Regions from separate parts of the Homo sapiens genome. Here regions 2, 3, 4, 5, 6 and 7 are each linked to region 1. The links are contacts of gene promoters, found by promoter capture Hi-C in blood cells and fetal thymus (Javierre and others, 2016). All regions are on one chromosome and are shown on one strand. Each heading gives the region's core, a stretch centred on a gene start or on the middle of the fragment in contact. The rest is flanking DNA. Distances are from core to core; before and after follow the strand shown. Region 1 holds the start of NPHP3-AS1 (NPHP3 antisense RNA 1). Region 2 holds the start of MRPL3 (mitochondrial ribosomal protein L3). Region 3 overlaps RYK (receptor like tyrosine kinase). Region 4 overlaps PIK3R4 (phosphoinositide-3-kinase regulatory subunit 4). Region 5 overlaps RYK (receptor like tyrosine kinase). Region 6 overlaps ASTE1 (asteroid structure-specific endonuclease 1). Region 7 overlaps ATP2C1 (ATPase secretory pathway Ca2+ transporting 1).

Evidence for each region. The method cuts DNA at HindIII sites, captures the fragments that hold promoters and counts their contacts. A CHiCAGO score of 5 or more calls a contact.
Region 2: a contact is called between the fragment with the promoter of MRPL3 here and the fragment with the promoter of NPHP3-AS1 in region 1, in 4 of 17 cell types (naive CD4 T cells, activated CD4 T cells, naive CD8 T cells and 1 more). The highest score is 8.7, in naive CD4 T cells.
Region 3: a contact is called between a fragment that was not itself captured here and the fragment with the promoter of NPHP3-AS1 in region 1, in 1 of 17 cell types (naive B cells). The highest score is 5.2, in naive B cells.
Region 4: a fragment that was not itself captured here is called in contact with the fragment with the promoter of NPHP3-AS1 in region 1 in 1 of 17 cell types (naive CD8 T cells); the score reaches 5.4 in naive CD8 T cells.
Region 5: a fragment that was not itself captured here is called in contact with the fragment with the promoter of NPHP3-AS1 in region 1 in 4 of 17 cell types (naive B cells, total B cells, activated CD4 T cells and 1 more); the score reaches 7.6 in naive B cells.
Region 6: a fragment that was not itself captured here is called in contact with the fragment with the promoter of NPHP3-AS1 in region 1 in 1 of 17 cell types (activated CD4 T cells); the score reaches 6.8 in activated CD4 T cells.
Region 7: a fragment that was not itself captured here is called in contact with the fragment with the promoter of NPHP3-AS1 in region 1 in 1 of 17 cell types (neutrophils); the score reaches 5.8 in neutrophils.

The regions. Positions count from the first base shown.
Region 1 is chr3:132,720,118-132,722,999 of GRCh38, forward strand. NPHP3-AS1 (NPHP3 antisense RNA 1) reads left to right here and starts at 1,633. Exons shown (of 11, transcript NR_002811.2): 1 at 1,633-2,262. NPHP3 (nephrocystin 3) reads right to left here and starts at 2,292. Exons shown (of 27, transcript NM_153240.5): 1 at 1,846-2,292. The coding sequence starts at 2,238. It overlaps NPHP3-ACAD11 (NPHP3-ACAD11 readthrough (NMD candidate)), which reads right to left and starts at 2,342. Exons shown (of 45, transcript NR_037804.1): 1 at 1,846-2,342. RefSeq lists silencers at 1,949-2,198, 2,299-2,808. The HindIII fragment of the contact is 4,122 bases long and covers 1-2,882 here.
Region 2 is chr3:131,501,721-131,505,755 of GRCh38, forward strand. MRPL3 (mitochondrial ribosomal protein L3) reads right to left here and starts at 1,251. Exons shown (of 10, transcript NM_007208.4): 1 at 1,010-1,251. The coding sequence starts at 1,101. It overlaps LOC105374114 (a long non-coding RNA gene), which reads left to right and starts at 879. Exons shown (of 3, transcript NR_189111.1): 1 at 879-984. RefSeq lists enhancers at 887-1,573, 1,080-1,149. The HindIII fragment of the contact is 1,488 bases long and covers 551-2,038 here.
Region 3 is chr3:134,242,486-134,246,775 of GRCh38, forward strand. The region is part of intron 1 of RYK (receptor like tyrosine kinase); the gene reads right to left. Among named protein-coding and RNA genes, the nearest start is that of RYK, 6.2 kb to the right of the region's middle. The HindIII fragment of the contact is 415 bases long and covers 1,746-2,160 here.
Region 4 is chr3:130,740,389-130,744,277 of GRCh38, forward strand. All of the region lies in intron 2 of PIK3R4 (phosphoinositide-3-kinase regulatory subunit 4), which reads right to left. Among named protein-coding and RNA genes, the nearest start is that of PIK3R4, 4.5 kb to the right of the region's middle. The HindIII fragment of the contact is 580 bases long and covers 1,380-1,959 here.
Region 5 is chr3:134,213,858-134,218,111 of GRCh38, forward strand. The region is part of intron 2 of RYK (receptor like tyrosine kinase); the gene reads right to left. Among named protein-coding and RNA genes, the nearest start is that of RYK, 35 kb to the right of the region's middle. The HindIII fragment of the contact is 5,038 bases long and covers 1-3,814 here.
Region 6 is chr3:131,018,021-131,022,192 of GRCh38, forward strand. ASTE1 (asteroid structure-specific endonuclease 1) reads right to left here. Exons shown (of 6, transcript NM_014065.4): 4 at 486-696. Among named protein-coding and RNA genes, the nearest start is that of ASTE1, 6.7 kb to the right of the region's middle. RefSeq lists a silencer at 2,211-2,320. The HindIII fragment of the contact is 4,299 bases long and covers 1-3,544 here.
Region 7 is chr3:130,897,737-130,901,606 of GRCh38, forward strand. All of the region lies in intron 2 of ATP2C1 (ATPase secretory pathway Ca2+ transporting 1), which reads left to right. Among named protein-coding and RNA genes, the nearest start is that of ATP2C1, 5.6 kb to the left of the region's middle. RefSeq lists an enhancer at 3,449-3,498. The HindIII fragment of the contact is 2,345 bases long and covers 310-2,654 here.

The sequences.
Region 1 (2,882 bases), core at 383-2,882:
TTTCCATCTTTGTGATAGTAAAAATTACATTTTGTAAGGCTTAACTTGAAGGATAAGTAGTTCTAAGAGACTGTGTGCCTGTTGGCACTATGTCTTATTCATCTCACCATCCCTTGAGCACTTCACAGTGCCTGGTACACTGCAAGTCTCCAGTAAATGTCTGACACAATGAATGAAATAAATATGGATAAGTTTTTTCATGCCTCGATATGTGAGAAAGGAACCAGTATGTTTCACAGGGAATCAGGATTGGTGACATGAGTGACTGTGACACTTGCCAACCCTTATTGCACTCCGCCCTGTTTGGTTTGGCCTTTTCTACCCCCACCTCACAGTTGTTTCCAACGTGCGGTGTCTGTTGGGCAGTGGCTTGGATACATTGAATCAGATATTTGAAATGCACTAGTCCATTTTATACATGCAAGTGCATTAAGGTTGCCCAGTAGGAAAACTGATAAGACAACAGATAAACTGCTACACGGACTTCTTCCCAGACAACGACAATAATTACACAACAGCTAATGAGGGAGTTTAAAAACAAAAACAACAACAACAACAACAACAAAACCTGACTAGAAGAATGTCTAGTCTTGAAGACAGGAGGCTTTTTTTCTTTTAGAAAAATCAGTCTGAGGTATTTATTTCACCCCGACTGTAACGACTCCGGGAACTCTTAGGCTGCCTATAAGTCTCTCCCACAGTAAAGAGTACACAAACGACACAACAACGACCAGAGGGGCCCCAAACTGAGGGCAAAAAGTTTTAGAGATTCGTTCACAGAAAAGCAACCTCTTGCTTTATACTATTTTTTTTTTTTTGATACGGAGTCTCGCTCTGTCACCCAAGCTGGAGTGCAATGGTGCAATCTCGGCTCACTGCAACCTCCGCCTCCCGGGTTCAAGCAATTCTCTTGCCTCAGCCTCCTGAGTAGCTGGGATTACAGGCGCGTGCCACCATGCCCGGCTAATTTTTGTATTTTTAGTAGAGACGGGGTTTCACCATGTTGGCCAGGCTGATCTCGAACTCCTGACCTCAGGTGATCCGTCCGCCTAGGCCTCGAAAAGTGTTGGGATTACAGGCGTGAGCCACCACGCCCGGCTGCTTTACATACTATTTTATTGAATTATAATGGACCTGCTACATGGAGGGCATGCAATAATTGCTTTTAGCGTAAATTAATCAAATGGACTAGGGAAATTTGACTACATCTAGAGAAGGTTTTCAACCATGGTGAGATCAGGAGGCTTCCAGAAATTTTCATGTCAAGACCATTAAAATGCAAGAGCGATGAAACTTTACAAAGAAACCGACACTTGAGCCCCACTTTGGAGACCCACTTAAAATTTTTATGGTGGGGAGGGGGGTGAAACTCCTAGGAAGAGTTTGCTGAGTTGCTTCAACAGATGTCACCAGCCTTCTGAGGGGGTGGGCGCGGGGGCGGCAGTGGAGCTGGAGATTGGCATTTGCCTCCTCAGGACACTTTCCGGCTAATTTCTTCTAGGTGCCTCAATGAATAAACCAGAAATAGAAAAGCGGGGACCAGGCGCGGTGGCTCACTCCTGTAATCCCAGAACTTTAGGAGGCCGAGGCGGGAGGATCATTGAGCCCAGGAGTTCCAGGTTGCAGTGAGCCGCGATCGTGCCACCGCAGCGAGACCCTGTCTCCAAAAAAAGAGACAGAAAAAGGGGAGGGTTAAGGAATCATTTCAGACTCGAAGAGAATATGGCCTCTCAAATTAAAATGGGCAGTTTCCGCCGAACTTTCAAAGCCGCTTGGTTTGGAGAGGGAGCAGGACGGCCGTGCTTCCCAAGGGTCTCCCGGCGTCGCGGCCCAGCCCGGCGTTACCTGCAGTTCGGCCCGCAGCCGCTTGTTCTCCGTGTCCAGCTTGGCCTCGCGGCGGCCCATGGACAACAACTCCTGGTTCTTGCTGACGCGAAAGATCTCGTACTCCTTCCTGAGCCGCTCGTACTCGGCCGCCGCGTACTCCAGCTCTGGCACCGACGAGCCAGTGGACTTGAAGCTGGCCCCCAGCAGCCCGCCCGCGCCCACCCCGCGGGGCAGCGACCCGGGCCCGGCCCCTGCTGCCGCCCCCGCGCCTCGGCGGAACGAGTTGCGCAGCAGGCGGGCCTTGGGCTTCACCTCCACCGGGATCTCGCAGGCCTCGCCGCCGCCCGCCCCGTACGTGTCCTCGATCACTTCCCCGCCCGCGGGGCTCACGAGCGACGAGGCGGTCCCCATGGCGTCCGTTGCCGCTACTACCTAGTGAGTACCAGCAGGACTGGGCAGCGGAACGGAACGGGACGGGGTGGGGCAGAGGAACGGAACGGGACGGGGCGGGGCAGAGGAACGGAACGGGACGGGGCGGGCCAGCGGGATGGAGCGGGGCCGGAGAGCAGGACTGGGCGGAGCAGCGGGACGGGGCGGAGCAGCGGAACGGGGCGAGGCGGGGGAGCGGGATGGGGCGGGGAAACAGGAGGGGCGGGGCAGCAGAACTGGGCGGGGCGGGGGTGCAGGACGGGGCGGGGGAGCAGGACGGGGCGGGGCAGCGGAACGGGGCGGGGCGGGGCCGGAGAGCCGGACGAGGCGAGGCAGCGGAACGGGGCGGGGAGGGAGAGCGGAAGGGGGTGGGGCAACTGGAGGGGCGGGGCAGCGGAACGGGACGGGGCAGCGGAACTGGGGGGATGGGCGAGGGGGACGGGGCGGGGCAGCAGGGCTAGGCGGGACAACAAGAGGGGCCGGGCAAGTGGGGCGGGGCATGTGGGCGGGGCAGGGCAAACGGGGGTGGGTCGAGAAAGCACACAGGGCCAGGCGGGCTAGCAAGAAGGGCGGGGCTAGCAGGAAGGATGGGGGGAGTGGCGACTGTGCAGGACCAGCAGTGGACC
Region 2 (4,035 bases), core at 1-2,500, 1.2 Mb before region 1:
AAAAGAAAAAATAAATAAAACCAAACCACAATTTAAAAACTTCCTCCACTTAATATAGAAAAGGGAAGTCACAAATTGGAAAGTGTAGTCAGGGCCTTGGGAAAGGGCTTGGATTCTGTATACCTTTTTTTCAGGTCTCCAACCTTTTCCTCACTCCCCACATTCCTTCGGATAAGGCTCACATTTAAACTGTTAGTCGTTACCCTGGAGAAAAAAATTCATCTTCTCCTCGCAGATAAACATATTCCCCAAAAAACAGTCCTACCTATAGACATGAAAAGCCACTAACCCATTTGGAAGTGTACCTTAATAGTTTTACATTCAGTGGAGGTGGCAGAAGGTGGCATGTTGATCTTTGTCTAACAAGCTCACCTCCTCCCTGCAATGACATGGCCTAGGTTCAGAGAAGTGAAGAAACTGGGTGTGCAAAGTTAAAAGATCCACAAAAGGCATGACCTCTGAACAGGTGAACATACCAAGAAAGACCTTAGTGGGCGGAGGTCAGGAAGAAGGGGTGTAATTCTTGCATGGAGGGTCAGAACAGAAGTAAAGCTTTCTGCAGTCTACTCTCCTTTTGTAGTCAGATAAATTCAGGCTAGATTCCTAATTTTCCACTTATTAGTTGAGTGACTTTGGGCAAATTAACTCACCTCCCTAACCTTCAGTTTTATCTGTAAACCTTATGATAGCAGTTTGCTCCCGTGAGGCTACATAAGGCACCTAATACACTTAGCAGAGCGCTTAGTACCTGGCAAACGCTCACTAATTGTAAGATATGATTGCTGTTAATAGCGTTCGCTGCTAGTGGCTGGCTCATAAGCGTTTTTTAAAAATCACCACTTCAATCCCCTTAGAACGTGCTTCCTTAGGTTAACGGCCCTTATTCTTCTGTGTCCCACGTCTCAACAGAGCCCCTTCCTCCTCCACCCAGGGGAGGCCCAACTGCACCAGGCCATTCCACTGCTTCAGGACGCAACTGTGCAGGTAGGACACCCTCACACCTTCCTACCTGTTCCCCGGGCCCAGGGCAGCACCCAGGCCGTCCCCGAGTCGACCCAGCACCTGGGCGCCGACCTGCGTCAGCAGCCTCCAACCCGGCATGGATTAGCCCGGGAAGACTCGACTCACGACTTCCGGGCGCCCTGCCGCTCTGCTTTCAGGGAGTCCCCACGCCACCGCCACGTGGACGCAGTAGCCGTGGGGAAGTTTTCGCAATGGCCGCCGGAACGGTCGCCGGCCGATGCTCTCTGCGACGGAAAGAAAGCCGCCGGACCCACTTCCGGTGCGTTTTACAATGAACTCCGGGCACTCGAGTCGCTCCCCGGAAACTATAGTTCTGCTTCCACCGTTGTCCTACTTTGGATGTGAGTTGGAGTAGGTAGGGGTGGGAAGGGACTGACTCGCCTCTCCAGGGGTAAAATAAAAGGGATGTTCAGAGTTTAAACTTTAGAAGAATAAGGACAGACTTCCTGAGGACGCTAAGGAAAATGAAGACACTTCTAAATAGTGCCCGTTGTGAGGCAATGCATTATGCTAAGCAGCGCTTCATAATCCTATATTTGTTAATCATAAAAAACGGTCCTGAAAGGAAGTATTTATTTTTCTATTATAAATGAGGAAACTGACTCAGAATTTAGGTGCTGGTCCAAAACAACACATCTGGCAGAGGAGCAGAGTTGGCACTGAAACAGGGTTGGCATGTGTTATCAATAGACTACACCCATAGAAATGATGTATGCCTTCTAGGGCTGGATCATAAAACATATTGTTACTTCAGTTTTTGTCTCTTGGATTGCTCCCTGTGGAGAAAGCTAGCCTTCATTTCCTGCAGACACTCAAACAGCTCTGCAGGGAGGAACATATAAAGAGGAATCAACTAGCCAGTCATGACTGAGCCACCTAGGAAGTGGATCCACCAGTCCTCGGCTGCAACTCATGGAGACGTTAAGCCTGAATCTCCCAGCCAGGCCGCTCATGAATTACTGACTAGGAGAAATTGCCAGAGAAAATAAATGATTACCGTTTTTTTGAGTCATTAAGCTTTAGGGTAATTTGTTATGCAATAATAGATAGCTAATACACCTGCACAAAAAATCCCCTGTCTTGGGTTCCAGATCTAGCCTAATAACCATGTATGTGACTAGGACATTTATTCTTCTACTAATTCCCTTATTTGTCAGATTACTGTTTGTAGAAATTTGGAAATAAGAACTTTAAAGTGTAGCTATTTCAACCTTCTCTTTTTACTAGAGATCTGGCTATCTTGGTTTAACAGGTCCAGACAATGGTCAATTCCTGGCCATTACTTGGACTTTAGTGGGCTAAAAAATCTTTGCTTTGCTTGTCCATTCATTCCACTCATTGCTGTTGCAGTTACCTTAGACACTTTTCAATAATACTTTGGACCTTGAAGGAAAAACTACATCTCTTCATTCTAGCCATGCTGCCTGGCTTCCCAGATACTTAAGGATGGCTCTTCATTGAACAAACATGTTTTGAGGTGTGCTACATGCAAGAAGTTGAGAATAAGAAGATTTCTGTACTACTGCCAATAACTAACATTTCTTATCCATATAGTGTGCTAGAGTATGTGCTCAGCATTGTGGAAGCCCATAAGCCAAGGCTACTAGAAGAAAACGTGAACTCATACAAAGTCAAGTTTAATTAGCTTGATGCAGCAAAAGACAGCATATGTCTGAGGATGTTTCCAAAAGAGTGACCTGGGAGGGGCTTGAAATGAAATTTGGACTTAAGGCTGAGTGATTTTAAAGTGGCATCAGAGAAGCAGGAACTTGTTTTAGAATGGGTGCTGTCAAGAAGAAAGGACAGTTCAGCAATTGGATATCTTGATAGTCTTTGTTCTAGAGACAGGAAGAACAGAGAGGAAGTGGGCATGATGTTCATAAGAAAGCAGGAATCACTCAGAATAAGGAACTGTTAGTCATTTTGCTGCAGTGGTGTGGCCTACAGTACGGTCTGTAAGAAATATTGTAATGATGGGCTGGGCGTGGTGGCTCAGCACTTTGGGATGCCAAGGCGGGTGGATCACGAGGTCAGGAGATTGAGACCATCCTGGCTGACATGGTGAAACCCCTTCTCTACTAAAAATACAAAAAAAAATTAGCCGGGCGTAGTGGCGGGTGCCTGTAGTCCCAGCTACTCAGGAGGCTGAGGCAGGAGAATGGTGTGAACCTGGGAGGCGCAGCTTGCAGTGAGCGAGATTGAGCCACTGCACTCCAGCCTGGGTGACAGAGCAAGACTCCGTCTCAAAAAAAAAAAAAAGAAATATTGTATTGATGTTCTGCTATAAACACTGCAGTCCAGTTACTAATAGTATTCATTTTTACTCTCTCAGTGTATTTTCTCACTTGATTGTTATGACAATCTGCTGTGACAATAGTATAATTATCTGGATCTTACAGTTAAGAAAATAGGCATACAGAGATTACATAACTTAAATAAAATCACCCAGCTATTAACTGGTAGAGCCAAAGACTGTGACCATAGATAGAGCTTATGCTTTTAGACATTTTGTTTCTTTGGCTCTCTATGACAAATATGTCACTACTCTTGCCTTGGAATTTCTTTAAGGCTAAAGAGGAAAATCGGTAAGTAATCACACGCAGTGGTCAGTGAGGATTGAAGAGGTAGCCATTTGGTCTAACCTTTTCCCATAGTACCAAATATCTCCTAGTCCATAAGGAGGACCTTGACAGCAGGCACCACCGCTGAACTGAATCAAAGTAAAACATGGTTTGTCTGCTGTCGTAAAAAATGTGTCTCCTGATTGCCAGCCAGGGCTGAGTGGTGTCATACTTGATTTAGTCACTGTAATATGCTGCTGACAGCTACTAGGCCCAGTTGTCAAGGGACCCAGCCTAGGCTTTTCTAGGGCAGTCAGGCACTGACCTAGAGCTTCCTGTTATTTCTGATGTCATCCTTCAGACACTGCCTTAGACCCTGAAACTGTAATGCCATTTTGCCTCTCTAAGATTTCAATTCCTTATTGGAACGAAGATAACTTGCACTTTCTCT
Region 3 (4,290 bases), core at 703-3,202, 1.5 Mb after region 1:
AGAAAATATTGCACTTGATTTACATCAACAACGCACAAAAATGTATACCTTTAAGTGTGACATAATTTTAGAGTAGCTAATGGTTCTGTTTCATGTACAAGTTTTTGTTTTGCTTTAGGATGTGTAGCTGGCAAGATTTTTCAGAACATTGGCGTAACTGCATCAAAACACCAAAAGTAATGCTATGGAACTTCTCAACTCAGGTGCCTGAATAAATACTCACATGTTTGATTTGTCCCAAAAGTGATTCTTAAAATCCAAACAGCATTTTAGGCAGCACCTTTGGAATTGACCAGTCAACTCAGGATGTGACTCACAGGGGACAGGTTTAGCCATAATTGGATAGAGTTCTCTCACATGTGTAGCATGAGGAAAAAAAACAACCCTCAAACCCACAATTGCACAATGTCTCTGCCTGTCTCCCAATGAAGAACACATGGATTCAAATAAATACCAACTCCACCAAAACGCCTAGGGTTAAGGATTTGCTGCAGAGTGCTAACCTCCCAAAAACCCACCCAGGATCTGGGCCCTCTGGCAGGTTATGCCAGACTCATGGGCAGAGGACACCTTCAACCCTCCACCCCTCCTCCCCACCAAGCATGGGCTCTGAGATTTAGGAGAGAGGGGTGCTGGGAGGAGAGGAATACATGGTTCATCTCCTTTTTCTTTCCCTTGACCAACCACTTCTCCCAAAAGGAAAGGGTCCTTTGGTTCAGTTGCCCAAATCTGAAACCCTAGATTCCTCTGTGACTCCTCCCCTTTCTTTAGCCCTAAAGTCTCTTCTACTAAGTCTTCTCCAAACTCACCAAATTCCTCACAAATCCATCCCACCCCTTCAACTGCCTTAGTTGATCCCTCTTATCATCACAAGGTTGGCTCTATCTCATTTCCCAGATCCAGCATTTCATTCTCCAAAGCCATCCTTTTCACTGGGGCCAAAGTTATCTTCCCTATAACCCAGACCTGACTGCGCACTCTCCTAGTCTGCATTCTTTAGCAGCTCACTGAAGAATTCACCTGTAAGAGTTCAAATTCCTACTCTAACCTCAGCCTACCTTCCAGCTTTATCCTGTGGCGCTCCATGGCTTTGCTAATTTTTCACCTCAGCCACATTAGATTTTTCCTACCCCACAATTTCACACAGCTGCTTCCACCCTCTATGTCTTTGTTCACACTACTTTCTCAGCCTGGTATGAACTGCTCTTTTCTGCCTATCAAATTCATCCTTCAAGATGAGGCTCAAATGTCTTTTTTTTCCCTGGGACAAGTTTCCTAAACTCTCTAAGCCTGTCTCCCCTCCGCCCTTTCCACAGTCAAAAGTAAGTGCTCCTACAATAACTTATGTCAACCAGCAATATAACTCTTATCTCTGTTACAGTCATAAATGCAAGTCTCCCCTACAAAATTCTGAGATCTTCAGGGAAAGGAGTGTAATAATTTTGAATTGTCATTTTCTACCACAATATATGGTACTTGGTTTAGCTTCAAAAAAATTTTCTGGACTGATTTGGGACACAGTGATTTCAACTAGTATTGACTTGATTTTAAATAAAATGTGAACATTCTTGACTTTTCCAGAAGATATTTATTTTAAGAGGAGAAGCAAGTTATCCAAAGTTAATTTCTAACTGGTGGGAGATGGGGCCTCTTCCCAAAAGTCCCCCTGACCCCTATCACCACCACCACTGTTGGCATAACCAGTTTATACCATTCCCCACCCACCCACCAGCATGTTCTTCCCAAGCTTCTGGCACTGCCCAGCCATATGCCACCTTCACAGGCTCCGGAATTCCACAGAGCTCAGTACAATGAAAATTATCAATTAAAGAACATGGGAGGATGCAAGAATAATTAGCATAATAATAAAGACCACAAACAAGCACCTGTGGCAGGAGGCTTGCGGTTCTACTCTTTGAGTTTTTGGTTAATTGCACTCCTCCAGAGCTGATAAAGAGACAGTATGAATTCAGGTCTCAGGCAGGACTGAGTCAAGACCTGGCCTTCTACTCACTGTCCAAAAGGCCCTGAATCAGGGTCCTCATCAGTAAAATGCAGAAATGAATGCCTACATTGCAGCCTGTTATGCAAGTAACAGGCTTGTAAATGCAAGCGATGAACCAGGGCCCAGGAACACAGGAAGGCCAACCAGAGTTTAAAAGCTTCTGAAGCTTTCGGTGTTTCAGAACTTATACACTTCCATCAGGACCGTGTGCCCTACTACTACCAAAAAACCAGGCTAGTCATTAATACATACCTACTCTAAGATTATTGTTTTCTCATTTCTCTGTGTCACCCCAAAATTTCTATGTTGAAATCCTAACCACTAAGGGATGGTATTAGCAGGTAGGGCCCTTTGGGAGGTGATTAGCTCATAAGAGCAGTCCTCATGAATGGGATTAGAGCCCTTATAAAAAGACCCAGGGGAGCTCGTTTGCCCCTTCCACCATGTGAGAACACAGGGAGAAAGCAGTATCCATAAACCAGGAAGAGGGCTCTCAGCAGATATCAAATCTACCAAAGCCTTGATCCTGGACTTCCCAGCCTCCAAAACTGTGAGAAATAAATCTCTGTTGTTTACAATCCACCCAATTTATGGTACTTTGTTACAGCAGCCTGAGCAGACTAACACTCATCTATAAAATGGAAATGACAGTACATAACACAGGGATGACCTCTATGCCCCACACAGACAAAAGACAGCACTTTTAAAAGTGTCAACTACTACTACAACCACCATTAACTACTCGTAATATTGTTCATATAAAAAGACTGCCACACGTCATCTTCAATAGTTAAACCCAAACCCTAACTGCCATTTACACATTGTGGAATGACCATAATCCCTTACCTCCATTTCCTTCCAAAATTCCTCTAAAATGATAGTTTAAAAAAAAAAAATCACAAAGACATCAAACCATAAGGACAAACAGAAAAGGAAAGACAACATGCTTTTTTAAACAAACTTTTGCAAGATGGCAAAGTACTTGAAGGAATGGTCACTGCCCCTCAGGACCTCCAAGAGGCTCAGGTCTTGAGGCACCAAGGAGATGCCAAAGGCTGATGTGAGGCTTAGCCTAGACAAGGGGGGAGCCACCGAAAGAGGTGTTCAAAGCTTTTGGATCCCCAGTTCCAGCAGGAAACCCAAAGTTTTTTCTGAAGAAACTGAATCACAGTGACAGGAGAACTGTAGCCAGAAGTCGAAGGCTACAGCCTCCATCCCTCCCTCAGCCAGGTAACCCAAACCCTGGCAGCTGGCATATCACCAAGCATACCAGAGGCAGGAGATGATGATTTCTTCATTGTGAACACTGGCCCCAAACGAGATGTAAAGGTGTTGATATTCGGGGCAGACTCCCAATGAAAAGTCCACCTGAACTCACAAGTCACTAGACCACCAATACACACATGTTCTCTCCTCTGCAATCAGCTCCTCAGGATCTTTTTCTTCATTATAGACAGTCAAGGATCACCAGATATTTATGACTTAAACAAACAAAGAAAAGATCCCTGAAATGAATAACCACACTGGAGGAAACAGAAGAAATATTAAAAATATATTAAACACAAAGAAAAAATAAAAATACACACATCAGAGATAAGTAAAGATAATACATCCATAAAATAAGATGCAATGAAATGGAAACAGAAAAAGATTCTAAAATTTAAAAACATGATCATTAAAATTGAGAACCATTCCCCCCCTCCCACTCCTTCCAGTACAAAGAAATACGTAAGACATGAGATTAGTTAAGAAAATTTAAAGATCATTTGTAGTGGGTTCAACAACCAAACCAACAGACATCTCAGAAAGAAATACACACACACACACACACACACACACACACACACACACACAGAGAGAGAGAAAATAAAGGGTGGGAATTATTAAAAAAAAAAAAAGCATTTCTGAAAACTAAAAAGAGTCTCTAGATTGAAAGGACCCACTAAGGTAATACAAGAAAGAAAAGGAAGAAAGGAAGGAAAGAACCAACCAACCAACCACACAAAAACTTATAAAACTTCAGAATGCCAGAGAAAAAGAACCTGAGCTTCAAAAAAACAGAAAAAAAGAGGCATCAGAATGGCTTTGGACTTTTCATCAAAAACCCTTAAGACAGAAAACTGTGAATATGCCATCAAAATTATGAAAAAATGTATTTCTACTTAATATTTTAAATTCAGCCAAACCATCTATAAAGTATGAGGACAGGATAGATACATTCAGACATTCAAGGCCTCAAGTAATTTATCTCCCATCATTCCTTCCTAAGAAGCTACTGAGGATAC
Region 4 (3,889 bases), core at 420-2,919, 2.0 Mb before region 1:
ATTACTGCAGCCATTAACTATATTGTGTTTTGTAACAGACTATACCTCATCTTAGAAAACACTGAAGGCCGGGCACAGTGGCTCATACCTGTAATCCCAGCACTCAGGGAGGCCAAGGGGGCGCGGATCACTTGAGGCCAGAAGTTTAAGACCAGCCTGGCCAACATGGAGAAACCCTGTCTCTACTAAAAATACAAAAAAATTAGCCAGGCATGGTGGCACATGCCTGCAATCCCAGCTACTCAGGAGGCAGCAGCATGATACCCAGGAGGTGGAAGTTGCAATGAGCCAAGATCGCGCCACTGCACTCCAGCCTGGGTGACAGAGCAAGACTCTGTCTCAAAAAATAAAAATAAATAAAAAGTAAAAAATACACACTGAAATGTTTCAGGGTAAAGGGCCATAATATATGTAACTTATTTCATAAGGTTAGGGAAAAAATGGGGCGTGAGGAAGAAGAAAACGATACCAATGATACAGCAACCAGGGCAAAATGTTAACAATAGGTGAATCTGGGTAAAGTGTATATGGGTGTTCCTTTGTTCTATTTTTATTTTTGCAAGTTTAAAAGTCTGTAAGTTTTTAAGGCTTTCAAGTTTGAAATTACAGTATTTCCAAATAAAGTCAGAAAAAAACACAGTGACATATGACTATTTATAACTAAATGGAGGTTTTATTGACTGAATTGTGTGTCAAGTGCCCCCTGCCTCCCCTCCTGCAAGTTCATATGTTTAATCTCCATACCTTAGAATCTAAGTGTATTTGTAGGCAGAGCCTTTAAGGAGTTAATTAGGGTTAAAGAGGTAATAAGGGTGTGCCCTTAATCCAATATGACTGGCGTGCTTATAAGAAAGGACACCATGTATGCTCATTCACAGAGAAAAACCCATGAGGACACAGCCAGAAGATGGCTATCTGCAAGCCAAGGAAAGAGGTCTCAGAAGAAACCAACCCTGTTAGCTTGATCTTGGACTTCCAGCCCCCAGAACTGAGAGAAAATAAATCTTGTTTCAGCCACCATCTCTATGGTATTTTGTTATGGCATCCCTAACAAACTAATGCAGCAGTGAATTCATATTTATTTTCTCAAAACTTTTACGATTTTATTCTGAAAGATGTTATTGGGTGGTATTTCCCTGTGGAACAACTTGTTTAAATCGTCACTATCATCACTGAGTCTGTATCATTCAAATCTCAGCTCAAATGTTACCTTCATCAGAGAGGCCTTCCCTGACCATTTTATCTTAAAGTAGTGCCCTACCAGCCTTTTCAATATCATTCTGCTTGGCTATAACACATCACTAACCAAAATTAACTTTCTTATTTACTTGTTTATTCTATCTCTCTCCCCACTAGAATGAAAGCTCCATAATGGCAAAAGCTTAGTCAACTGTATTCCTGGCACCTACGTAACAATGGCTTGCACATAATATGCTCAAATGCATGTCAAAATGAATGAAAGATCTGCAGCACACAAGGCTATGCCTATGTACTGGACCAGAGGCAGAATATATATGGTAAGTCCTCAACGGTATCGATGGGTTCTTGGAAACTGCAACTTTAAGTACAACAACGTACAACAAAACCATTTATTTTCTCACCATTTCATTATAATGAAAACGACATTATTTGATGGACCTGCTTTACACTGTTTCACTTAAAGTAGCAGTTTCCAAGAGCCTATCAAGGACGTCAGGACTCGCTGAACACTTCTCCCAAACCAGCAGCCTGGAACCATGGATATCCATCAAGAGGGGAAAGTAGCACTCAAAACCCAAACATTCAAATCTTAAGAGCACTGGGAAGTGGACAGATGCCACCCACCTCTTTTTCAAAGGAACGGAAGGGCCTACCTTCAGCCAAAACAATGTAAGGCTCTTTGGTCTGGAAAAATAAATGCTGAGTGTGAATTTTGTTGAAGTTTACAAAACTATAATGCACAAAAAAAGGATAAAAATAAGCTTATCAACCACTGAAATTTTAAACCTATGAATGATCCCCTGAAGTTTGAAAGTGACGCAATTCCTAAGCTAAAGGATTACATAACAATTAGTGAGTTTAAAATGTAAAAATGGTTCAAGAAAATTTTAATACACTGATCAACAAAACTGGAACTTTGATGGATTACATTTCTAACCTTGTTATACTGTATTTACAACCTTGAGGCTAACCCTATCTTATCAAAACATCTCTCAGTATTATCTTGGGACACAGATTAGTGAGCTGAATAGACCAACATAGGTGCAATCCTGAATAACATTATTCATTCTGGTAGATGAAATACATTCATTCATCAATTAATTTTCCTAAATAATCTAAAATTTGGCTCAATTTATGTTTTTTGTAATAAACCTACAAGCAAGAAAAAAATTAAGCCAAACCATCACAAAATTTACCAAAAATGGCACCGATGCCAGATTTCTTTTGAAGTCTATCAGAGTACCACTCTCAACACACTTCTTCCTCTCTATCCCACAAATTCTTAAATAATCTGGAATCCATAGCTCAGCTTCATGTGGTCTGTGTATGTGAAATAATATATAGGAATGAATGCATGGTACATTTTTCTGGGGAAGGAGTCCACTGATTTCATTAAATTTTTTAAGGGTATCCAAAAAAGCTTCAGAATCACTTCTGTACAACCTTTCCCTGGCTACAATTACTACCTATTTCCTGATAACTCCCAAATCTCCATCTCTATCCCAGATTTCTATGCCCAAAAATTTATAACCAACTGCTGGGTTAGGTGTGGTAGTTCATGCCTGTAATCCCAATACTTTGGAAACTTGAGGTGGGATGACAGCTTGAGCTCAGGCGTTCAGGAACATTCTGGGCAACACAGTAAAATAGTCTCTACCAAAAATGTTAAAAAAAAAAAAAGTCAACTGGGTGTGGTGGTGCACGCCTGCAGTCCCGGCTACACAAAGAAAGCTGAGGCAAGAGGATCATTGGAGTTGGAGGCTGAAGTGAGCTACAATTGCACCACTGGGCACCAACCTAGGCAACAATGTGAGATCCTACCTCTAAAAAATAATAATAAATTAAAAATAAATAAAAATATAACCAAATACATGTTGTACATCTTCTCCTGCATACTTGGCAGAAATCTCAAACTTACCATATCTTAAACAGACCTCATCATCTTCCCAACCTAACCTGTTGCTCCTCCTGTGTCTCCCTGTCTCAGGGACCAGCATCACCATCCACTCAGTTTGGTGGGCGAGAGAAGTTCCTGTGACTTCACCTTCCAATGACAGAATCCTAACAATTCTATCTACTAATTATCTCTTAAGCATTACCACTTCTCTCCACTCCTTCCAACTCTGCCACAATCTTAAGCCGGTCACAATCATCTTACCTGGACTGTGGCAGTTTTCTCCTAACTTGTTTTCCTGTCTTCTGTGTAGCTCCCCTGCAAAATTCACTCTCCATGCTCCAGTCAGGCCAGACCCTTTCTGATCTGGCTGAGTTTGGGCCTTGCTTAATTCACACTGTGTTCCAGAAAACACATCAGTGCATCATATTCTGGTCTTTAAGCTTCTGTATAGGCAACATCCTCTGCCTGAAACAAACTACTCTACGAAAGTTAACTCCCAATCAACTTTCAGGTTTCAATGTAAATATCATCTTTCTATTAAAGAGGCCTTTCTTGATCCCACCTCTTGACTCAACACCACCATGAGGACTAATTTAAATATCTATGTGTTCCTATAGCAGCACCCTATGCTTATCACCACCACAGCAATCAACACCGCATTGAAATGTCCTTTTGCAATATCCACGGTCACTTTAAAATGGAAGCATTATGAAAATATATTATCCACCAATATCCCTAGCACTTAGGACAGTGCCTGACACATACAATAAAAGTAGGCAAGCAAATATGTTT
Region 5 (4,254 bases), core at 46-2,545, 1.5 Mb after region 1:
CAGTGGCGTGATATCGGCTCGCTGCAACCTCCACCTCCTGGGTTCAAGCGATTCTCCTGCCTCAGCCTCCCGAGTAGCTGGTGGGACTACAGGCACACGCCACTATGCCCAGCTAATTTTTGTATTTTTAGTAGAGACGAGATTTCACCATGTTGGCCAGGATGGTCTCGAACTCCTGGCCCCAAGTGATCCACCTGTCTTGGCCTCCCACATTGCTGAGATTACAGGTGTGAGCCACCGCGCCCGGCCGAAGCTCACAGCTTCTACTCATAATGGCTACTTCTCATGCCATCAACACCAATAAGCCACACAGGACTTGCAGAGGCCTTGGTCTCCTGCCATGTTCTCCCTGGCTTCAATATTCAGTATTCAATATCCTGACACGCTAAAGAATTACTTCACTACCAAAACAAATGCAAAAATGCCATTCTATCAAAGATCCCATCACCACCTCTGATTCCTACAAAACTAGTTCTCTGATTCCATCACTCCAAGTCAGCCAACATTTATGAGGCACATTTATGAGCCAGGTGCTGTGTTCATAGCAGGATGCAGCAGCCAGTTAAAGCCACTTCCCTTCTCTCCAGTATAGCCGTGAACACCTAGTTTCATGTTCTCCACAGCCCAAGCCCTAAAGAAGGCAACATTACTGACAGTCATATTGGCACCTTCAGCTGGTTGACTCCTTCCAAACCCTCAAAGGGCAGCTCTAGCATCCTGACCACCCCTTCTTACTCTACTCCTGCTGCTCAGCACTGCTGAAGGAAATCCATCCTACAGAAAAGGAGCTCTTACACAACAATGACCTCCAGTCTCAGGGGAGGCCCTTAGTTCTACTCAGCAATCCCTTCCTCACTGACCCTCTTTTCCCTCGTCTTATTCCAACCTTACAGGCCTTCCCCACCTCCTCACACTCAATGTTTTTGTCCCTTTCCACTAGTACAGAGGAACCCCATTTCTGCCTTTCTTTTCAACACCCCGGCAGATCTATTAGAGCATCTATTCTTTTCATTCTAGTCCCAAGGAAAGGTCCATTTTCCTCTCCAAATGTAAATCCTTCAATCCTAGTACACTAGGGTTCTAGCCCATTTCACCACTGATGGGATATCTTAATCGTCAATTTCTCTCACTCTCTTTTACCTTCAATCCCTCTCAAGTGTCCAATTACCTACTAGGCAATTCTATCTAATTATCCTACAGCCTTCCAACTTAACAAATTCAAAGCCACACTTACTATTTCCCCAGAAACTTGCTGTCTCCTTTATTCTAGGTCTCAGTTATCACAAGGAGAGAAGGAGCAGACCAGAGACCAGAACCCCAAAGTAAGCAGAGAGGGCCTGGCAAAGGGGTCCAGGGCCATAACTGCAGTTAAAAAAGCAGCTAAGACTGGCGCCTGAGCATCTCAGTGTGGCAAGGTGAAAAGGAGGAGAGAAGGGAAGGAAATGAGGCTGTGAGTGTAGCTGGCCAATGAGGGCACAGGGAGAGGTGCAAAGGGCTGAGGAGGAGATTTGAGAAGGCAGCCCCTTTGGTCCTATCAGCAGCTTAGAGGAATATGAAGCATGAAACTGTGGAAGCCTCCTTGCTGGCTCCTTTTTTGAGGAACTGTCTAAAAATGGGAGGCATTCACAAGGTAGTTCTCTTTTCCCTCTGCAGTCTTTAAGATATAAATTTTAAAACTGCAGTTTCTGGGATTAGAGAAGAAATTGCCAATTATTGAAGTCCAATTTTCTCTAGTTTGGCATGTATCGATCTGTAAGGACTCTCACTTGCCAATCATCCTTTAAAGAAACAGATCTGCTCAAAAGTTAAATGTACAGTCTACTGGGACAAAGAAATTTGAACAGCAGTTGTTTATCAGAATGTAGAGTGAGCCAAAATACTTCAGAAAAGAAACTACAGGCTAGGCGTGGTGGCTCACACCTGTAATCCCAGCATTCTGGGAGGTCAATGCAGGTGGATCACTTGAGGCCAGGAGTTCAAGACCAGCCTGGCCAACACGGTAAAACCCCGTCTCTACTAAAAATACAAAAATTAGGTGGGCATGGTGGTGGGCACATGCTACTCGGCTACTCGGAGGCTAAGGCAGGAGAATCACTTGAACCTGGGGGGCGGAGGATGTAGTGAGCCAAGATCGCACCACTGCACGCCAGTGTGGGTGACAGAGTGAGACTCAGTCTCAAAAAAAAAAAGAAAAAGAAAAAGAAAATAAAAGGAAAGGAAAAAAAAAGAAACAAATTACCAAAAATATCAACATTTGAATAAACTGAAAAATAAACATTTTTGCTTATGTTCCCTTACTTGGAAACAAATGGCAATTACAAATAGGAAGCTGGTAAGTAAAGCCATTTCCTTCTGGAACACAGAGAGTACAGATTTAAAGTGAATACACTTGTCTACAGCCAAATAGCCTTTTAATTTCTCTGAACTTACTAGAAGTAATGCCTTTCTCATAGAAACCTCACTCTGCAAAGGACACAGCTGCTGGCCTCCAGCAGTGCCTGCTGGAACTCTGGACAAGTTCCCTGCAACTCCTAGAAAATGATGACGAATTCCTGAAAGCACAGAACAGCCATGGGGTAAGGGTGGGTAGTGGGAATATTCTGCTACATTCTGGCAAATTTTCGCTTTTCAGATATCTAAAATAGCTACTGACGGCCAGGCGCGGTGGCTCATGCCTGTAATGCCAGCACTTTGGGAGGCTGAGGCGGGTGGATCACGATGTGAGGAAATTGAGACCATCCTGGCTAACACAGTGAAACCCTGTCTCTACTAAAAATACAAAAAACTTAGCTGGGCATGGTAGCGGGCGCCTGTTGACCCAGCTATTCAGGAGGCTGAGGCAGGAGAATGGTGTGAACCCAGGAGGTGGAGGTTGCAGTGAGCAGAGAAAGCGCCACTGCACTCCAGCCTGGGCGACAGAGTGAGACTCTGTCTCAAAAAAAAAAAAAAAAAAAAAAAAAAAAAGCTACTGACACTTAACAGACACAGTTACATGTTTCTCCTGGATATTGGGGAATGTTCTGGAATACAGAAGAAACTATCTGTTAAAGCCTCTCAGTAGCCTGCTTTTAAGTGTGTGGTCTTGTGAAAAAGAAGCAATACCAGAGTTCTACTCCCAACTCAAAATGCAATTAACACAATGGTCTTTCCTGACCACTCACTAAGGCATGTGTGACCTATGCGCTAAGAGTAAGACAGCTTCAAGCCTCTGAAGAGACCACAATCTGTGTGGCAAGACAAAATGGCGAAAACACTGAGAAACAGTATTACCAGAAGCTGTGATATGTGAAACTAATGTTAAAGTATCTACGATGTTGAACCGACACATATCAGGGAGCCTGCAGATCTCTGGAAGCAAATATTTCATCTTCTGGCAAACCTTAAAAAGCAAGAACCGAGGGTTTCTGATAAAGTATTAGAGCTTGAGAGCCACGGCCCTCCTTCTGAAAGTTCATGATTACACCTCAGGGTTAAATGATCAGGTGACAAACCCTTCATCAAGCCTCCCCTGCCCTCACGTGTGACTTTCCCATTTCAGGTCATCTCTACCTTCTGCTTCCTCTAACCCTACTTCTCCTACCTTAAGCAAATCCCTTTCCAAATCTGGGTCTTAATTTCCTCACAGGAACTGATCAATAACCAAAGTACAACTATATAATAATAAGTAATACAGCCATTTGAAGGGGGAAAAAGTACAACTCTGTATCAAGTGACAGAGATCCTTGACCAGGATATTGTTCAGTGCTCTGCAAACTGCAGAAAAGTAGGTGGTATGTTAGCTGTTGAAAGATGTATATATACATATATGCATGGAAGCTTATATACACACGAACTATTTCCAAAGGAAAGACAATAATCAGGCAACAGTGGCTGACTCAGGCAAGGGGAACTAAGTGGCTGGATTGCTCAGGGATGGTACTAGAAGGTGCAAGGGACTTATTTTTCACTGTATACCCTTTATGCTTTTTAAATTTTTACTATGTGCATATATTATCTACTCATAAGATTAATTTTTAAAATAAATAAACGTAATCAACTGTGCTAAAATCACCAGAGATTATTACCTAGAATTGGGAACTGCAATAGTGGCTGAAGCCTGAAACTAGATTAACACAGACATATTTCCTTAGTTTTTTACTAAAAAAACATCGTAAGACGGTTACTTTCCTCTAAATTTTATACCTGTTACAGATGAACTTGTGAAATCAGTTTAGGTTTATATTCAACCCACTCATTTTTCCAAACTTATAACCT
Region 6 (4,172 bases), core at 145-2,644, 1.7 Mb before region 1:
ACTACTTACATACTAATTGAAACCTACAGCAGAGAAAAAGGAATAAAAAGATGTATAAGCAAGAATGTAGTGGTTGTAGGTATTTAGATAAGTTTCACTTCTGGGCAAGTTTCTTGTGATGACGTTGCTGCTGTGCTAATAACTGGATAGGTAACATGGAATACAAAATGCAGCTGGCAAAATACACTGTCACAATTCACAAGTTAAAGGAGTAGGTGCCACCAAACAGATGGAAGTTGGCAGTACCCCAACACATCTCACTGCTGTATACTTAAGATTCAAGCCCTCCAGCACTGAGCCTGGCACATGAAGTGTTAAAAAATATTTACCAATGAATGAATGATATTTTGGTGCCTCCACATCTAAGTTGTGATACAATTAATGGGAGTAAATAATCCAAGAATACTTTTTTGTTTGTGTAAACTCGAGTAAACAGTTTGCAAGCAACATGCCACAATATACTCCTGTAATTTCCAGTTACCTACCAGGGCTGTTGATTATGGCAATCAAGGGCCCCACTAGCATTGTGAGCAGTAAGGATTGTAGATGATGTAGCTTTGCTTTGGTCTCGGTGTGCTGCAACCAGTAGCAACTGACAGCAATGGGCAACTTCAGTGAAGTAGGGATTGGCTCCAGAATGGTCTGTTTCACCTTCAGGGTTTCTAACAGAAGCATCTGCCGCCTCCTCAAGGAGAGCTGAAAATACACACCAAGTATCCTGCAAGTTACTTTGGGAAATGTCTGTTATTTCTTTTTTCCACCATAGCATGAAGAGATTTAATGCTACTGAAACTTCTGTCAGCTGTTAAACTTATCTTCTTGTGGGAAAAAAAATCAGCCACACTCACAGCATTTAGAACATTAATAAGATGCTTTATAAATATGGTTGGTTGAATGGGTGTACTGCCTACTCCTACACCTTTACTTATGTCATTCCATCCTCTTTGTATACGCTGGTGAGCATCTTCAGTGCACGTCACCTGGGAAGCTCATTAAAAATTCAATCCTTAGGCCCTACTCCATAAATTTTGATTGACTAATCTGAGAGAGAGCCCAGGAGGAATATACATTTTAACTAGCAGCCCAAGTATTCTACTTTGAGAAACAAAGCTGTATACTCAACACCACCTGTATGTGCCTGTGCAACAGGCATTTGCCTTCAGCATGATGCCATTACTAATTGCCTCCAGAAGACAAACGTTGCTTTTAGGAACCCTATGTGGCATATACTCTATTTGTTTGGGTCCTGTCTCATGTCCCTTCCCTGTTGAATGCTTTATTGTCTTTGCATAAAAGACACACAGGGATTGTCCCAGGGTGGCTGCTTGTAGATTAGAGGTATATTCAAGGGAGATAGGAATATTTTAAGGACTACTTGCATTGTGCTTGGAGTAACACGCCATACTTTTACTTCATGGTTTAGCGTGTACTTCAAATAAAAGCTCAGAAGTAAAACAGCTATAAGAGCACTGAGGTTCTTGTTGAAATAATTTTACCTTAATGAATTACCAAGACCTTGTAAGAACCAGAATGGGGACCTTACAGGTCATGCACTCAGGAATATTAAAAGGTCATCTTCTGGGGGACTTTATAATCAAACTTTAAGAAAAAGAAAAGTTGTATTCCTAGTGTCTGCACACAGCCAGAAAAAGATTTTCTGCTTTCTGGAAAGTTGAGATGGTAATAACATTTCTCAGCATGTAACATCTAGTTAGTAGAAAGAGTGGTTGACAGCTGAGACTAAAGATATTAACCTGAAACAAAACACATCATAAATGACAAAATAGTTTTATCATTAATGCATGAAAACTTTAAATAGTACGATTATTTCTAAATACTGCTTTTAATAATATTGTGATACAAATTTTAAAATTAGAAATATGCAAAGAACTTTATAGTATAACCAATTACCCCTACTGGAAGTAGTTTTAACTACTTAAATTTTAAGTAAAGTGGAAACTAAACTCTTAAACTGGTTTTTAAAATGCACTAAGTAGAGCTAAGAAAATACACCAACTCTTTTCTGATATATATTTAAATTACTGAATTATAGAGCCAAGTTACAACTTTTCATAAACAAAGCAGTCTGGGCTTTGACTTCAGAGATGTTCCGCTCTGCACTAACCCTATGGCTTTGGTCGAAAGGTTTCTGACCTTTTCTACAGTCTGTCTGACTTATCTGTAAAATGGTCATTATAATGACTTGTATAAGATGTTTCATCAAACCCACCAGTCCACAGTCCCTTCCAAAAGGGGAAGTACTCAACTCACAGCCCTTAACGTTAGTTAGGTTTTATCCCATGTGACAACTACTTTCCCTCTTCCCCAGGGGGAGCGAAAGCACAAGCCTGCAGAAGCAGCTGCCCCGAGAGGCAGAGATGCCCAGAGAGAGACTGGTCTTGGCTGCCTTACTCCTTAAGAATGATCCACTTTTGTGTCTCCTTATGATTAACCTCCCATTGGTTAACTTGAATGGTGCTCTGTCCATTGCAACTAACATAACCAAAATGAAACCCTATCCCATGTGGTTATTGTGGGAATTAAATGAGAGACTATAAAGTTTTTATTAACAACAGCTGGCCAAAGCAGATAATGTATTACAAGATCTAAAAAACAAAATGAATAGGTACTATCACAAGGTTTCTATACTTGTACTTGCATTTGTGTTTGGAATCACATGAGCACCTGGTACATTTATAATTTTCAGGGGCTAATTAGAACCATTAGCACTGAGCTAAATTCAGAATTGATAAGTTTATGCCAAGAGAAAGCTGGGTGATAGCAGAGCGCAGAGAATGAACTAAAATTTCACTCTATTTTGAATCCAGGTAAATGATGAGAACACTTAAGTCATCTCTACTTAGCAAGGAATATAAGCAGCCTGCTATACTCATGGATTCAGTTGGATTTCCATGTGGGGGGAAAAGGTATCCTGATCCCTATTTCACACCATACGCACCCACAAAAAACCAATTCTAGATACATTATAGATCTAAATGTGAACAGCAAAAAAACATTTTCATGACCGTGGAGTAGGCAGTTTCCTAAGCAGTTCACAAAAGTGGTAACCATAAATAATAAAAATTTAAATTAGAGTATATTAAGAACTTCTGTTCATCAAAACATACTAAAGAGTGAATAAACAATGGGAGAGACTATTCACAATATGTTATTTGACAAAGGACCCGTATATGATAAAAATGAGCAAAAAACTGTACAGAAACTTCATATAATAGAGTATCACATGGCTAATGAACACATGGAAATGGAAGATTGGAAAGAACCCAAATGCTCATAAGCTGTGTAATGAAAAAAAATGTTCTTAAGTGTATAATGGTAATATACCAAAATAGAAAAATGTTACAGCAATGAGAAATGAATGATCAACTACTCACAGCAATGTGAATGAATCTCATGTGGAATAAAAGCCAGATGAAAGAATTCATTTCTAAAGTAATAATTCAGTTAAAACTATTGTGTTGTTAAACAGGAGAGTGATTATAGAGAGTTGCAGAGCGAGTGACTGGAACCAGACACTAGGAGAAGCTTCTAGGGTGGCGATAATGATTCATCTGGATCTTCTTTGCATGGATGTATAGACCTTGCAAAAATTTATCATGCTGTACGATTATTTGGGCACTTTACTGTGTTTATACTCAAGGAAGCATGAATTGCAAAGGAACAAGATGAAACTTTAGGGGTTATGGATACATTGATTATTTTAATTGTAGGATGACTTCACAGATGTAGACATCTCAAAACTCATCAAAGTACACACTTTATGTGCACTTTACTGTACACTACTTATTTCTCAGTAAAGCCATTACATTTTTTTTAAAAAACTCCCCAACAGCACCATTTATGCTTGAGTAGAAATGTAATTTCAGCAAAACATTAATAATGTAGCTAGTTTGAATTTTATTGGTGTGGGTAAAGTTTTAATAAATCCCTTGTTTGAGACTGACTTACGCTCCACTTTCTAGTTTTGTACCCCTGGAAATGTGCTAAAGGTAGATTGTCAGTTGTGTTACCAAGCATTATAAAAATGACTTATAAAATTGCATCTAAGCTTAAACTATATATAAATGAACTATAAACACCTGATGGGGACACCATATCTTGGGGCTTCCCTGAGTGCAGTGTCTTGTAAGTAGGATGTCCCTTGCAGGGAC
Region 7 (3,870 bases), core at 232-2,731, 1.8 Mb before region 1:
AACTTTCTCAGCAAAGCTTGACCAATTTTTAGCTGTAGACTCCAGGATGTTTCATGAACACTTTCTGCTTGTCACTAGGAACGTTTAAAATGTTAATTTCCTGGAATTTTTGGACTACTTAACATTCAGTCGTGAGTTAGGATTTTATCCAGATCCTTTGGAATTTGTTTTTACATGTTTATCACAAATCTAAACAGATCCCGCTTAGGCATCTTGAGATGCACAAGTAAACAGCTCTTACCTGATTTTTAAAAGTTAATTGCATGTTTAAAGTGATAGCTTACTAGAAAAGATATGTCTAGCTGGAGAAGCTTGCACATAGGTTTTCCTTTCTAGTAATGGATTTATTTTTTGGAATAAATTTGGCCTTTCCCATAGAAAATTCAGTGTGACTTTAATACACATGAAACTTTAATATAGCCTTAAATGTTTGACTAGTGGATAGAAATGTAATAGTCTTCAGGATTTCAGGACATGGTTAATTTAAGATTATAGACAGAGCTAATAGGTGTAGAGAACAATGCCCCAATCTTTTTTGTTTGAAAATGGTTGTATTTACACTTTACTTTTAAAAGCAGTTTCTTAATTCAATTTCAAATTGTTAATCAGCTAGGAATGTCTCAAGAAAAAATTGCATTACTATAGTTGGAGAAGCTATAGGGAAAAAGGGATGAGAAGCCACCTTAATTTTATTCCTTTAACTGAAAATAGGAAACCAGGTTATAAAAATATATCTTTGGGTGTGGGAAATATAGTTTATGTTGTTTGCAGTTTTGTCCATAAAATGATAGTCTTAATTAGTACTCTGAAAAAGAGTTGAAACTAAAAGAGATTATATATATGACATTTTGTAAACTGTAGTAATTTAAGCCAGAGGATGCTGTAGAGAGTACTTGTATGCAATAACCTTCTGACAGTTGGATTCCAAATACTTGATTTGTCTTCATATTTTTGTCATTCATTTAAAGTCAGCAGAATTCAGGTCTGTTAACGCAAAGCATTATGAAACAAAATAGTTTCCTAGGGAACACACCCCTAGGGGCCCAGGACTGATTTTGGAGATCTTAGTTAGCCATGATCTGTTTTGCAAGGTTAAATTTTGTTTTAAAGGTGCCAGGAACACTGTGGCTTGATGGTAAAGTTAGCATGAATTTTAAATTACACCGTTGTTACATGTAGCATCTTAAAATATCTTAAGGATCAGTTCAAGAGGTCCCCTCACATTTACTTTGTTGAAACAAATTCTTTTTAATAATGGTTTCAGGCATCAGTTGTGACAAGGTTATCTTTATGCTTTTCATGTAGACAAATGTTGGTAAAAGGCAGTAAAGGGTGCATCCTGAGGTTAATGCCATCATTTCATGAAAGAAAGGATCTCTCAAAAAAAAGGCTAAATTGATAATTTCCTCTTGGATGTATATGACTGCTACTTATATGCATTTGTTAATACAGTTGACCCTTGAACAATGTGGGGGTTGGGGTGCTGACCCACCATGCAGTTGAAAATCTGCATGTAACTTTTAACTCTCTGAAAACTAAACTACTAATAGTCTCTACTGTTGCCTGGAAGCCTCACTGATAACATAAACAGTCAATTAACACATACTTTGTATGCTATATGTATTATATACTGTATTCTTGCAATAAAGTAGAGAAAAAAACTTACCAAGAAAATTATGAGGAGGAGAAAATATATTTATAATTCATTAAGCAGAAGTGGATCACTATAAAGGTCTTCATCCTCATTGTCTTCGCTTTGAGTAGGCTGAAGAAAAGGAGGGGTTGGTCTTGCTGTCTCGGGTGACAGAAGCAAATCTGAGTATAAGTAGACCTTTACAGTTGAAACTCATGTTGTTAAAGAGTCAACTGTGTATCTTCTGTCTTCAGGCTTTAAGTTGCTACGACAAAAGTATAAATCGTAGAATTACAAATAAATTACACCAATTGTGTTAAATTAGGTTGGTTTAGACTAAACCTGTGATGTGTTTAGAAAAAGTTTGAATGAAATGTTGAAAAGCTGTCCTAGATTATAGACAGAAGACAGTAATAGTCGGGGTCAGAAGCATTATCTTAAGATGGCCGTAACTGGGTGTCTGATTCAATTTCTATCTCTGCTTTTTTTAATTCTGCTATAGGTATTAGAGAATGTGTGAATTGGAATTATTTAATATACCTGTTAGTTGTAATTGCTTTCTTAAGTAAAGGCCTTTTGGTTTGACATTTGGTCATTTCGTAAACATGCTGACCTAAACTCGTGTCCCTCCCTCAGAAGGAAATACGTTAATTTAGTATGACATCCTTTTTTTTCCCTTTGTGCTTATTTATTTATTTATTTTTTTGAGATGGAGTCTCACTCTGTAACCCAGGCTGGGCTGGGACACAGTAGCATCATTATAGCTCACCAAAGCCCCTAACTCCTGGACTAATGCGATCTCCCTGCCTTAGCCTCCTGAGTAGCTGGGATTATAAGCACACATCACTATACCCAGCTAATTTCTTAATTTTTTTAAAGACGAGGTCTTGATATATTGCCCATGCTGGTCTTGAACTCCTGGACTCAAGCAGTCTTATTGCCTTGGCCTCCCAAATTGTTGGAATTATAGGCATGAGCCACCGTGCCCAGCTTTAGTATGACATTCTTTATTCTTTTAGAAAGCTTTGAGATATTGATGCATCCTTATAGAAATTACTTTCATTTATTTATTTACTTACTTAAAACAGCTTGATAAAGTTGGAAAAAGCAGGACCCTAAATAATAAATATATTTGCCATCAGCCTTTTATAGGAAAACTCAGAAATAATAAGTGGAAATATTTAGGATGTCACTCATCAGACTTTTTTTTTGAATATGTAAATGTGTTTTTTTGAAAATTTAAACACGCAAAGTAAAAATTAAAAGTTTTGGTTAAGTTGTGAATTTCAGAAATTTATCTTGGTTATGGTGTCCTGAAGTTAAAAAGAATAGAGCATTAGTACATTAGTACATAAACGTTCTGTTATTCTCTGCCTAAGGGCAAGATCCAACTTTGAACCAGGTCCTGGATTTCCTCTCATCTTAAATCGGAGCCTTTTTCATTTGTAGTATAAATAAATTAGCCTTTTGATGCTGTGATTTTATTTGTATATGTTATATATGAGATTTATATCTCTCTTTGTATGCAGGCATTTCACTAGATTTTGTTTGGCCATCTATTTTTAGTGTTTCCCTAGCAGCATGTTTGCTTTACCTGCCTTCATCTAGGTTTCTACATCATCAGGGGTGGAAATATTAGTTGGCTTAATTAAGCTTGGGAGTTGTACCTTACTTGCTCTGTTGAGTGTCAGTTCTACCTTCTTTTGAAGCAGGCAAAAGCAGTTCATGGCACAAATGCCAGAAATAGCATGCAAACCACTTTGTAGTGGTATGCAAACTAATTTCTGCTGTGTCCTTTTCTTAATGCTTGTGAGGGTTACTGTTTACTTAAGAGTTAATATTTGGCTTATGAAACTAGTATCAGATGAGAAATTCCAGCATCCCTCCCCACCCCAGAGAAAGATGTGGTCATTGGGGACTGCTCTGAAGTCTGCCAGCCCTCTATCCTAAAAGTTGGTAGATCAGTTATTATATCTTGATATGTACCCCTAATTCATATGAGGGGCCAAGAGAGATTAGTTACTCCTGATTTCATCTGTTAGAAGATAAAGGGAGTGTGGTTTGTATCTATATTAGAGTAATGGGAATGAAGGGTAGGGATGGATGACAGAGATATTTTACTCCTAGGAAAAATCAGCAGGACTTGGACAGTGACTAGATACAGAGAATTAAGGGAATAGTTGAATCAGACATGACTGCAAGATGTCATTTGGGTCAGTGAAGGTGCCATTGATTGT